4 separate regions of the Homo sapiens genome follow, and regions 1, 3 and 4 are each linked to region 2. Evidence: promoter capture Hi-C in human tissues and cell types (Jung and others, 2019). All regions are on one chromosome and are shown on one strand. The core of a region is centred on a gene start or on the middle of the fragment in contact, and the rest is flanking DNA. Distances in the headings are between cores, read along the strand shown.

Region 1 (2,767 bases), core at 171-2,670, 170 kb after region 2:
GAAAACCACCCAGTAAAACGTAATTAGTTTTTAACTCAGACTGAAAAATCTGGATGCATAACTCAGTTATCAAGCTCATCGACACAGGATGATAAAAGCTCAAAAGCATGCCCTGTCTTTTCACTAAGACTAAACAGATCCACTTTTCTCTAAGACACATTATGCAACACAGAGTAAAAGGACTTAACAACTACTTCCCCGCTGGGTGGGACTGATCGCCTACATAAAAGGATTCTATCTTTTTCAATGTATCCTGGGTACTGGCCTCATTTCTTAAAAGTATGTGCGCTTAGATTTTCTGGGATTCAAGCCCCACGAAATTCAGAGAATCATACCAGTAACAGCAGTTACTCAGAAAATTAGGTGAGCTCCAAATTGTCCCTAGAAAGGTAAGGGCTGTAAAAGCTGACAGGGTCTTAGATTCTCAGACACTTACACTTTCAAGATGTGAAGATGAAGCCCAGGGAGAGTAAAAGACTTGCTCAGGCAGCGTATTGGGGCCAGAGTGGAACTAAAACACAGGGCTCCTAACTGCAGGCCAGGGGCCACACTCCAGTGCCACCAAGCTACAGGTGTTCCTCACAGAGGAGGAAGGGAGCTTCCCATTCTCTGCAAGCACCATGAGCCTTATTGGACAACTACAGTAAGGACCAGAGCTTTTTCTTCACCACCAAGGGACAGGGTTTTGCTCTGCTGCCCAGGTTGGAGTACAGTGGCATGATCATAGCTCACTGCAGCTTTGAACTTCTGGGCTCAAGTGATCTTCCTGCCTCAGCCTCCTGAATAGCTGAGGAGCCCCTACAAGGGCACACCATCATGCTCTCATGCCCAGCTGTTTTTTTTTTTTGTTGTTGTTGTTTTTTTTTTTTTTTTTTTTAGAGATAGTGTCTTGCTATGTTGCCCAGGCTGGTCCTGAACTCCTGGCCCACTTTGGCTTCCTAAAGCACTGGGATTTCAGGCATAAACCACCACACCCAGCCAGGACTAGAGCTTTCATCTCACTCATGCCTTGACTCCCCAGGTGTGGCAATATCCCAAATAAGAATCACTCTTTCTCCCAATGGCTTTTGGCCTCTGTTTTTCTCCCAGATGATGAACACTCCAAGCTAATGAATTCCTGTTTCCACCCAGATCCTCTGGGGATGGAGCCATGTGCTGCAAACCCCTCTTCCTCCACTCACGCCTCTGTGGTCATGTCTCCTTGACCTTGACACTAGGCCTGAATCTAAATAAACAGCCCGTAAAACATTTCTAAGCATTACAGGCTTTCACACTTGAGGCTTCATGGTAGGGTTGAAAAATGAAACCTACAAATACTAAATTGTAGAGAGGTACAGAGATCTTCTGGGATTTGCTCGCTTTCATTAGTTTCCATAAAACATTCTCACGTGTGTGGACACATAACTATTTGTATAAGGGAACTTACTACTAAATTGATTTGACATGACTTTAATTTGCCCAAGGCTGTACCGGCAGAAGTAAGGTGGGTTCTTTGCAAGATGTTCTCAGTCAATTGGAATGGCTAGCAGGCTTTTCATCCCCGTGACACAGGGATGACTTTTCCATTTCTTTGTAACACAGATCTGTACGTCCGCCAAATTTAGTATGATACTTAATAGCTATTCTTGAGGCGCTCACATTTCATTGGCCTAACATGACTTTAAAATTACAAATTGTAAGATACAAGCCAACATAAATAAAAGTTCACATTAGAAAAATTTAACTTTTTAGTCACCCTCATATCCCTCCTAAATCTATCATACATCTTTCAGTAAAATTAAAAAAAAAATTAATCTCTTCACATGTATTGAGGGCACACTAGGGACCTACCGTACAACACTTCAGCATTGTTAAGCACTTAACCATTTGAAAAAACTTAATGAAATGATTCAAATTTACATCAGCCACCCAATTGTATATTTATGTACACATCCTTCTGAATAGCTTATAAGATGGTTTATACACCTATACCTCTCTCCTCAACTAGCCTTTGCCTTGCTCAAAGATAAGGGATATATGTTGTCATCTTCTTTTTCTACCTCCTGTGCTCAGGATGCTGATCCACAAAAGGCTAACTGCTTTAGTGACAGAAGGCATTAGACCTATAATCATGACTGTCCAATTTTACATTCAATTAACTCATAAACTATTGAACTATTTTATTCTTACCAGAACTGGACACACGCCTGATCCTCTGAGGAGATACGGCTCGATCAGCACTGGGATTTCTATTGTCACTGTTCCGCCTCAAACAGGAAACAGGGGGCCCCACTTTGGCTTTTGGAGCAGCTATTTGCCTCAAACCGCAGGAGTCAGGCTTGGATATATTCCTACCTGAGGTGGTCGTTGTTTTTGAAGCAGAGCCCTGTGAAAATAACAGTTAAGACTGTAAACCAAAACTAAAATTCTAAGCCCCCCAACTGACTGAATGGGCCCCTCCTCTAGGCCAAGGCAATTCCAAAGAAACCTAAAAAACAAGTTCAGGCCATGATGGCAAAGAGGTCAGACATGCCTCATTATACTCTCCTCCCTTTAGAATTCAGGCACAACTGACCAGAATTAACATTAAAACAGAAACCTTAAGTCAGACAAAACAGACTCTTTATAGCAAAAAGACACTAAATTCCAACCTGACTCTAGTTTAGCATCACATGACAGACAGCAAGCCCTGAAGGAAATTGAAGTATTTTACCCCAAAATATTTTTCTTTAACACATTTTGAAATGGCCCTGCAAAGCTGTCTCTTGTAGGGGCAAATTTACATTCT
Region 2 (2,700 bases), core at 22-2,521:
TTGAGCTCCCTTTAATAGCAGTGCCTGGTGCTGAAGATTACAATGAGATGGGCTGCTTCTCACCGGGGGAACACACACAGGCATCTCCCCCGCTAGCAAACTGCTTTGATCATGAGAGTCTGCAAGCTCAGAAACGCAGGATGGCTCTCTGCAGAGGGACTTGTGAAAGCCCGTATCTTCTGCCCCACTGTTACCTGATAGAGTTGTCCAGGTTCTTGGCCTGTTGAACAAAAAATTGAACGAAATGCACGGAGTAACGAAAGAAAGAAGCAAGGAAAAACAAAGCAACAGAAGGGAGGAAGGAAAACGTAGATTTATAGAAGACAATTCACAGAGGGCGCTGCAGCAAGCCACAAGAGCCTGACGCTCCCCAGGGATTTTATAAAGCGAAAAGAACTTGGCAACACCCTTGGGTTCCCTTTAGAGGCCTCCAACTGGTTACACCTTACGAAGGACTGGCCTGCGACCAGTCCGAGGCTGAAGTGGAAACTTCTGCCTTGTTATCAGAGGAGCGAGGATGTGGCCTGTGTGCCGCCTAATCATGCCTAGAACTGTCTGCACCTGCTGATCTTTTGCTTCTGCGAACTGGCTGCACCTGCTGTTCTCCTGCTCATACCCTAGCCCGTGCTTACCCTAATTCCCTGTTCTCCTGCCTCACCACCAGAGGCCCGGGTTGTCTGCACAGTCTCATTTTCCACGTTATTCCTGTAATGAACCCGTCCTCCCACCCCCACCAGCAGTTACAGGGCTGGGTGCGGAGACCAACTCTGGCCAGACACAGAGGAGCAGCAAGAACCCGGGGCAACGGTCCTGTGAGTGAGTGCATGTGGGGGAGAGAAATGGAATGAACAGAAATAATTTAGGAAGCACTTTTTACAGAGCACTCAGGTTCTGCCTGAGGAGGTGGGGCGGGCGCTGGTAACATTTGGACAATCGTGGTTAAAAGTGACCCCATCAGCACCCGCTGATCCTTCTTGAACTTGATAACCTTGGTGAAAACGCCAAGCGTTGGAGAAATTCAAGGAATGGCTGTTGTAATGTACATTTCACGCTTAGCCTTTCCTCCCCGCGCTGGGAAGAAGTGCTGCGCACCGCGGCTCCGCCAGGGGGCAGGAGAAGTCACATTACACAGAGAACTAAAAAAAAAAAAAATTCCCCAACTTTTTCCCCCAAACCTTGTTCCTCCTGAAGAAACCGAATCCTCCCGCTTCGGCGTCCCAGGAGCCCGCCCCTCGCCCGCCGCCTCCCCTGCGTCCCCGCCCCGCGCAGCCGCCGCGCTCCTGCGCTCCGAGGTCCGAGGTTCCCGAGATGAAGGTCTGGCTGCTGCTTGGTCTTCTGCTGGTGCACGAAGCGCTGGAGGATGGTGAGTGACTCTGGGCGCGGGGCCACCTAGCTTGTGCCCTGACTTTAGCCGGGACCCGAAGCCCCCGCCGCCCTCCTGCCAGCTCTTGGTCTAACGTTCGGCCCTCGGTGGCTCAGCCCCCGCGCCACTGCCTGCCCGGTGCACCTGCCCCCTCCTGGTGGGGTCTCCTTTCCTCCCACTCTTTGCCTGCCCGGAGAGCCCTCTAGGGGTGGTGGCAGCTACCCCGACCCTTAGGAGCCCACCAGGACCTCTCCAAGTCCCCATCTCCGGGCGAACCAAGCATCCCCAGCCAGCGCCTGGTCCAGCCCCCAGTGTCAACGTGTCGGTCTGGGAGGTGGGGCGGGAGCCTCGGATCGCTTCCACCTCCCAGCGGCGTGGCTGGGACCTCTGCTGCTGAGAGCGAGTGCCACCTAAGCTCGGCAATCGCTGATTCGGTTGCAGAGTTCCAGGTGACCTCCCCCTCCCCTCGCAGTTCTGGGCGTGTTTTCGTCTACCACCTTTTGCTTGAATCCTGCAAGATCTGCCTAGATCTTCGAACAAAAATGTCAGTGTATGAAACTTCAAAACGAATCAAAAGCCCACGGCTTATTATATTTATCTAATTGGATGGGAAATGGTGAAGAAAATGCATTTTTTTGGTACAGCTTATGGGACCATGACCGCTGCGCGTTTTTGAATGTGTACCTGTCCTGGGTCCACCCTGTCGTGTACACCCGTGACCACAGGGTCTGGTGTTATTTTTCTGTGTGTCTGGGTGTGTGTATTACTGTGGTGTGTATTATATATTATTGTTAGCATTTAAATGTTTTGTTTGCTCTATTCACTCCATGGGTGTTATTTGTACAGTACATGTTTCATCTGGGTGCCTCCTGGTGTCCTCAACCCTCTCTTGAAATTCCTGGGCTACAACACAATTTTTGCTTAGATTTAGTGGAAAAGTAGCTTTTGCTGTTATGCAACTTCATGCTGGAGCCAGCTCGACCTGGCTCACATTTTTATCCACTCGTTCATCCTGACCAGTTCCTTTCTTTCCTAGGAAACTACATTTGCCAAAAAAATACCGCATTGTAGTTTGCAAAATCCAAGATAGTCGTGGTACTTGAAGTTGAGCATGAGGGTCCTTCAGCCTAGAGCTTTGCTTAATAAAACGTAGGCAGAGCTTCTACTGGGAGAGTAACACTTAACTCTGCCCAGAGAGAAGTTGCCATGAGTTCAGTTTGTAAAATGCAATATTAAAATGCTCCTGGCAGGCCCTTGTGTGCAACCGCTGAAAAGGCAGAAATGTAATTTGTAGTATCATTTTTTGAATAGGGCAGGAGATGGCCAGGCAAAATAAT
Region 3 (2,700 bases), core at 19-2,518, 160 kb before region 2:
CACTGGCATTTAGTAGGTGCTCAATACTGTTTTTTTTGTTTTTTTGTTTTTTTGAGATGGAGTCTCGCTCTGTCGCCCAGGCTGGAGTGCAGTGGTGCGATCTCAGCTCACTGCAAGCTCCACCTCCTGGGTTCACACCATTCTCCTGCCTCAGCCTTCCCAGTAGCCGGACTACAGGCGCCCGCCACCACGCCCGGCTAATTTTTTTTTTTTTTTTTTTTTGTATTTTTAGTAGAGACAGGGTTTCACCGTGTTAGCCAGGATGGTCTCGATCTCCTGACCTCATGATCCTCCCCCCTCAGCCTCCCAAAGTGCTGGGATTACAGGTGCGAGCCTCTGCACGCAGCCTAGATACATACTTTTAAATGTATCAATTAGTCAACCAATCCCTTTCTATATCCTGCACTTGCAAATTATTTCTATGTCTTCGCTCATGCTGTTCCACGTCTATCAAATTCTTTGAGGTTCATGTCAAAATTCATTTGAACATTCCCACCAGATGCAGTTCTTCCAAAGTAACTCTTGTCTGTTCATTTCAATGAGCAGAGATGATCATAAGCAGTTTATTTTCATCTGTCACAACTTTTCCACGAGGACCTTGATCAGTACATTATGCTAAGGCTACTACACGGTCCACTACATTGATAATAACATGCTGATTGGACCTGTTGAACTGAAAGTGGTAGATGTCTAACTAAGGCACATGCATATCAGAGGGTGGGAGATGCACTCTGGGAAAGTTCAGGGTCCTGACATCTCAGTGAATTTCTAGAGATCTGCAGTAGTCTGGAGCATGTTAAAATAGCCTCTCCAAAGTGAAAGGCAAGTTGCTTCACTTTGCACCCCTACTAATATATGATGTAACCTATTCCTGAGCTATCCAGAAAGGCTACCAGCTCTGCACAGGGCCCAGAGCACAAAAAGGCTCTCCAGCTGGTTTGGGTTGTAGTGGATACGGATCTACCACAGTGGCCTTTTGACCTCAGCAGATCCAGATATACTCAAGGTGACTGCAGCAGATAGAGGTTGGTATGGAGCCTCTTGCAAGCTCTAATTGAAGACTCATGGTTGGTTACTGCATGGCCCACCACAGCCATACAGCGCCCTTGTGTTAACTTTTAAGGTACTTCAAAATATGGTAAAATATACATAAAATTTACCATTTTAACCATTTTAAGTGTATTGTTCAGTGGTGTTAACCGTATTTACATTGTTGTGCAATCATCACCACTATCCATCTCCAGAACGCTTTTCATCTTGCGAAGCTGAAACTCTGTACCCACACAACGATAACTCCTGATTTTTCCCTACCCTTGGCCCCTGGCAATCATCCTTCTACTTTCTATTACTATGAATATGACAACTCTAGGTACCTCACATAAATACCGTATGATCATATAGTATTTGTCCTTTTGTGAATGGCTTATTTCACTTGGCACAATTTTCTTAAGATGCATCCATGTTGTAGCATATGTCAGAATTGTTTGCCTCTTGAAGGCTGAATAATATTCCATTGTGTGGATAGAGCACATTTTGTTTATCCATTCATTCTCCAGTGGACAGTTGGGTTGCTTGTACATTTTGGCTATTGTGAATAATCCTGCTATGAACATGGGTGTGCAGAAATCTCACTGACACCTGCTTTCAATTCTTTTGAATATACACCCCGACATGGAATTGCTGGGTCATATGGTAATTCCATTTTTAGTTTTTTGAGGAAATCTTACACTGTTTTTCATGGTGGTTGCAGCATTTTACCTTCCCACTAACAGTGCAGAAGTGTTCCAATTTCTCTGCTTCATCACAAATACATGTTATTTTCTGGAGGATTTTTGGTTTTAGTTTTTTTTTTTTTTATAGCAGCCATCTTAATGGGTATGAGGTGGTCTGTTGTGCTCATGTTAAAAAGATGCAGAGGATGCCTGCATCCTCTGCATAGCCCAGAAGCACTCAAACATCAGAAGGAAGTGGGACATAAGAGATCTCCCTGGAAAGTCGAGGCTGCAGTGAGCCATGATCACACCACTGCACTTCAGCCTGGGTGACAGAGGTGACCCTGTCTCAAAAACAATAAAGAGAGAGAGAGAGAGAGCTCCCACTGAAGCATACGCTAAAGGTCCAACTGAGTTTCACGAGAAGGTGGTTCAGATTCCCATGTCTTCTTCCAGTGTCGATCAATGCCACCTCTCCCTCAATTCATACTTACAGTGTTATAGGGCATTTAATGCACGTAGTTCACAAAAGAAGAAAAAGTTCCAGCCTGGTTTATATACGTTTCTGCACCATAAACTCAAAGCGGCCGGAAGTGGAATGCTGCAGCACTACAGCTCTGCTCAGGAGTGGCCACCAAGGATGGAGAGGACGGAACTTCTCCAGGTGGGCAGAACTGTGCAGTTTTTCTTGAAACTTCAATGCCTTGAAGGATAGATGGCCACATATACAGACTGATGCCAATTAAAGGTGGGTGAGCAGCATTTGTTCAATGCCCGGGACTTGGAAGGAACAAAATTTGAGATTGGCAATGAGAAACAAGGAAAATATTTAGGGATGGATCTTTCAAAAGAGCCCAGAGTATGAAAATACTTGTGTCCCATGTAAATACTCACCATAGGGCATTGCTTCAGTGATGTAGTGACATTCTCAATAACTATACAGACGGGATGATCCATTTTATGGCGCCTCTTATTATTAAGCTTTCTT
Region 4 (2,700 bases), core at 1-2,500, 180 kb before region 2:
TTTTCTGGTTCCATTTCTATATACATTTTAAAGATTTTTGATGCTGTTTGTATGCTTTTCTCTAGGATTGTATCTGCTATTATGGCAGAGGAATACCCTTTAAAAAATTCTTGAGAATTATAGATGAAGTATGGTTTCTCATCAATTTATGTTTATTTGTTTACTGTTGAGATTGAATTTATTTTTTGCAATTATTTATAACAAGAGCAATACAACAATAGTACCGATAGTACTGATAAAAGAAAATTCTGAAATAACACTATAGCTACTGTGCTAGGCACCATTCTAGATTCACATTTATTAAGACGCTTAGACCTCAAAATCACCCTAAGAGGTGAGTACTGTTGTTATCCCCATTTCACAGATGAGGAAACTAAAGTTAAATAAGTTAGTGAGCTGTAAGAGGCAGAGTGAGGATTCAAAACCAGGCATTGTGGCCCCAGAGTGTGTGTTCTTAACAACTCTACCATTTTGCGTTTTGATGTTGAGAACAGGAAAGAAAATGCAGTTTAGGATCCCAGCGGCCTTACAATGCTATCTCCAGGCCCTCTGGAGTCCTGTGTGCTTCCCTGCCTCTAGAGTAATGGGCTACCTCTACATTATCAAGCGTTACCCTTGGTTTTTCTTGTCGTTGCAATTTGATTTTATCAAAAGAACAAACCTCAGTACTGTTTTGATTTAGACCGGTTTAAAGATGGATTCTTATCTAATTGTCAGACTTTTATTGCACAATATTTAACAGCTGTTGAGGAGGTAGTCACTGTAATCAAATACGCTCTTACTCAAAAGACAAGGCTGATAAGATAAGTTTGCTGGAATGAAGCAATCCACTTAAAAGTGTAGATGTGGCAGTATTTCTTTTTTAAGTTTTCCAAGTAAGAATAGATTGTCTAAGCCAAGTAATCACAGAAGTTGTGATTAAACATTCCTCAAAAATCGCCCACATTTCATGAAATCCTCACTTTTAACAGGTCTAGCAAAAGTTGAAGTCTGGTGGTCTTGCATGGAGGCTTGGGTGTACAGAACACACGGTCTGTTATAGAACCTAATAATCCATATTCATTCATTCAGTGTTGTATATAAATGCAGCTAGCTGCCAGGTACCTTTGCAATTCGGGGGATACGGAATGTATGCATGTGTGTGGTATGTGTATGTGTGTAGGTGTGTATGTATGTTACAGAAAAAATGCTATGGAGAAAAATATAAAGAGGTAAAGTATGTTGGTTGAGGTGAGTTAGGATTGTTATTTTATATGTGATGATAAATTGGCTTTCTTGATAAAATAACATTTGAGCAAAGATCTAAAAAAGTGTGGGAGCAAACCATCTGCACATCTAAGGAAAGCAAGTTCCAGGCACAGGAAACATCTCGTGCAAAGGTGTTGAAAAAGGAGTGTGCCTGGGTATCCAGGGAGTAGTGGTCAAGCAGTGAGGTCCAAGAACAGGGAGTGGGGTAGTTGTGGGAAATGAGATTTGAGAGGGAGAAGGGGCAGATAAGGTATAGAATTTCCCTCTGGGTGTGAGGAGACCCACGAAAGAAGTCCAAGCTCCAAATTATATTTAACAGTATCTCTGGCAAAAATAAACTGGTGGGGGAGCGGCAAAAATGAAAAGGGGACCAGGAAAGAGTTGATAGTATTTCAGAACAGGGTGGTAGGAATGGAGGTGCGATAACCTGGATATATTTTAAAAGTAGAGTGCTGAGGATTTACTATTGGCATAGATATGGAAGGAGAGAAAAAGAGGAGTGAAGGGTAACTCCAAAGTTATTGGCTCCAGCACTGGAAGGGTGAAATGCCAAGATTGGAAAGAGCACAAGAGGAGAAAATTGGGTGTGAGACGAGAGGGAATCAGCTCAGTTTGGGACATAGTGAAATTGAGGTACCTATTAGATATACAAATTATTTTAATAAGATCCAGGTACTATGAATCTTATGCATATTATGGATCTTATGGATAAGTACCTTATCTTAAGGAACTATGGAATGACAATACAAAACATATTTTATAGGGTTATTTTTTAAATCATGTATACTTTACAAAGGTCTCAAATTCTTTTGAAAGTAGTCTGATATAAACAAGACATAATAAATTCAGTCTATCAATAAAATTCTGGAAAATTATTTTTAAAAATTTTTTTAACTTTTCTGAGCACATAGTAGGTCTATATATTTATGGAGTATGTGAGATACTTTGATACAGGCATGCGTTGTGTAATAATCACATCATGGTAAATGGGGTATCTAGCTCCTGAAACGTTTATTCTTTGTGTTACAAACAATCCAGTTATACTCTTTTAGTTACTTTAAAATGCTAAATTATTATTATTTATTAAATTATTATTCACCCTGTTGTGCTATCAAATACTAGGTCTTACTCATTCTTTCTAACTACTTTCTGTAGCCGTTAACAATTGCCACTATCCGCCCTCACCTGCCCCAGACCCCACTACCTTCCCCAGCCTCTGATAACCATCCTTCTACCCTCTGTCTCCATGTGTTCAATTGTTTTAATTTTTAGCTCCCACAAATAAGCGAGAATATGTGAAGTTTGTCTTTCTGTAGCTGGCTTCTTTCACTTAGCACAATGACCTTCAGTCCCATCCATGTTGCTGCAAATGACGGGATCTCCTCCTTTTTTATGCCTGAATAGTACTCCATTGTATATATGTACTACGTTTTCTTTATACATTCGTCTGTT

The links. Contacts are between HindIII fragments. The study calls those that stand out against the background at their distance.
Region 1: a fragment that was not itself captured here is called in contact with the fragment with the promoter of PDGFRL in region 2 in 2 of the 25 tissues and cell types used here (dorsolateral prefrontal cortex and hippocampus).
Region 3: a contact is called between a fragment that was not itself captured here and the fragment with the promoter of PDGFRL in region 2, in 1 of the 25 tissues and cell types used here (stomach).
Region 4: a fragment that was not itself captured here is called in contact with the fragment with the promoter of PDGFRL in region 2 in 1 of the 25 tissues and cell types used here (dorsolateral prefrontal cortex).

The regions. Positions count from the first base shown.
Region 1 is chr8:17,741,435-17,744,201 of GRCh38, forward strand. It overlaps MTUS1 (microtubule associated scaffold protein 1), which reads right to left. Exons shown (of 15, transcript NM_001363059.2): 3 at 2,170-2,365. Among named protein-coding and RNA genes, the nearest start is that of MTUS1, 58 kb to the right of the region's middle. The HindIII fragment of the contact is 9,707 bases long and covers 1-2,767 here.
Region 2 is chr8:17,575,945-17,578,644 of GRCh38, forward strand. PDGFRL (platelet derived growth factor receptor like) reads left to right here and starts at 1,272. Exons shown (of 6, transcript NM_001372073.1): 1 at 1,272-1,363. The coding sequence starts at 1,309. RefSeq lists silencers at 1,478-1,537, 1,628-1,677. The HindIII fragment of the contact is 19,467 bases long and covers 1-2,700 here.
Region 3 is chr8:17,418,676-17,421,375 of GRCh38, forward strand. No RefSeq gene overlaps it. Among named protein-coding and RNA genes, the nearest start is that of MTMR7, 6.7 kb to the left of the region's middle. The HindIII fragment of the contact is 6,995 bases long and covers 1-2,700 here.
Region 4 is chr8:17,399,964-17,402,663 of GRCh38, forward strand. The region is part of intron 1 of MTMR7 (myotubularin related protein 7); the gene reads right to left. Among named protein-coding and RNA genes, the nearest start is that of MTMR7, 12 kb to the right of the region's middle. The HindIII fragment of the contact is 6,173 bases long and covers 1-2,700 here.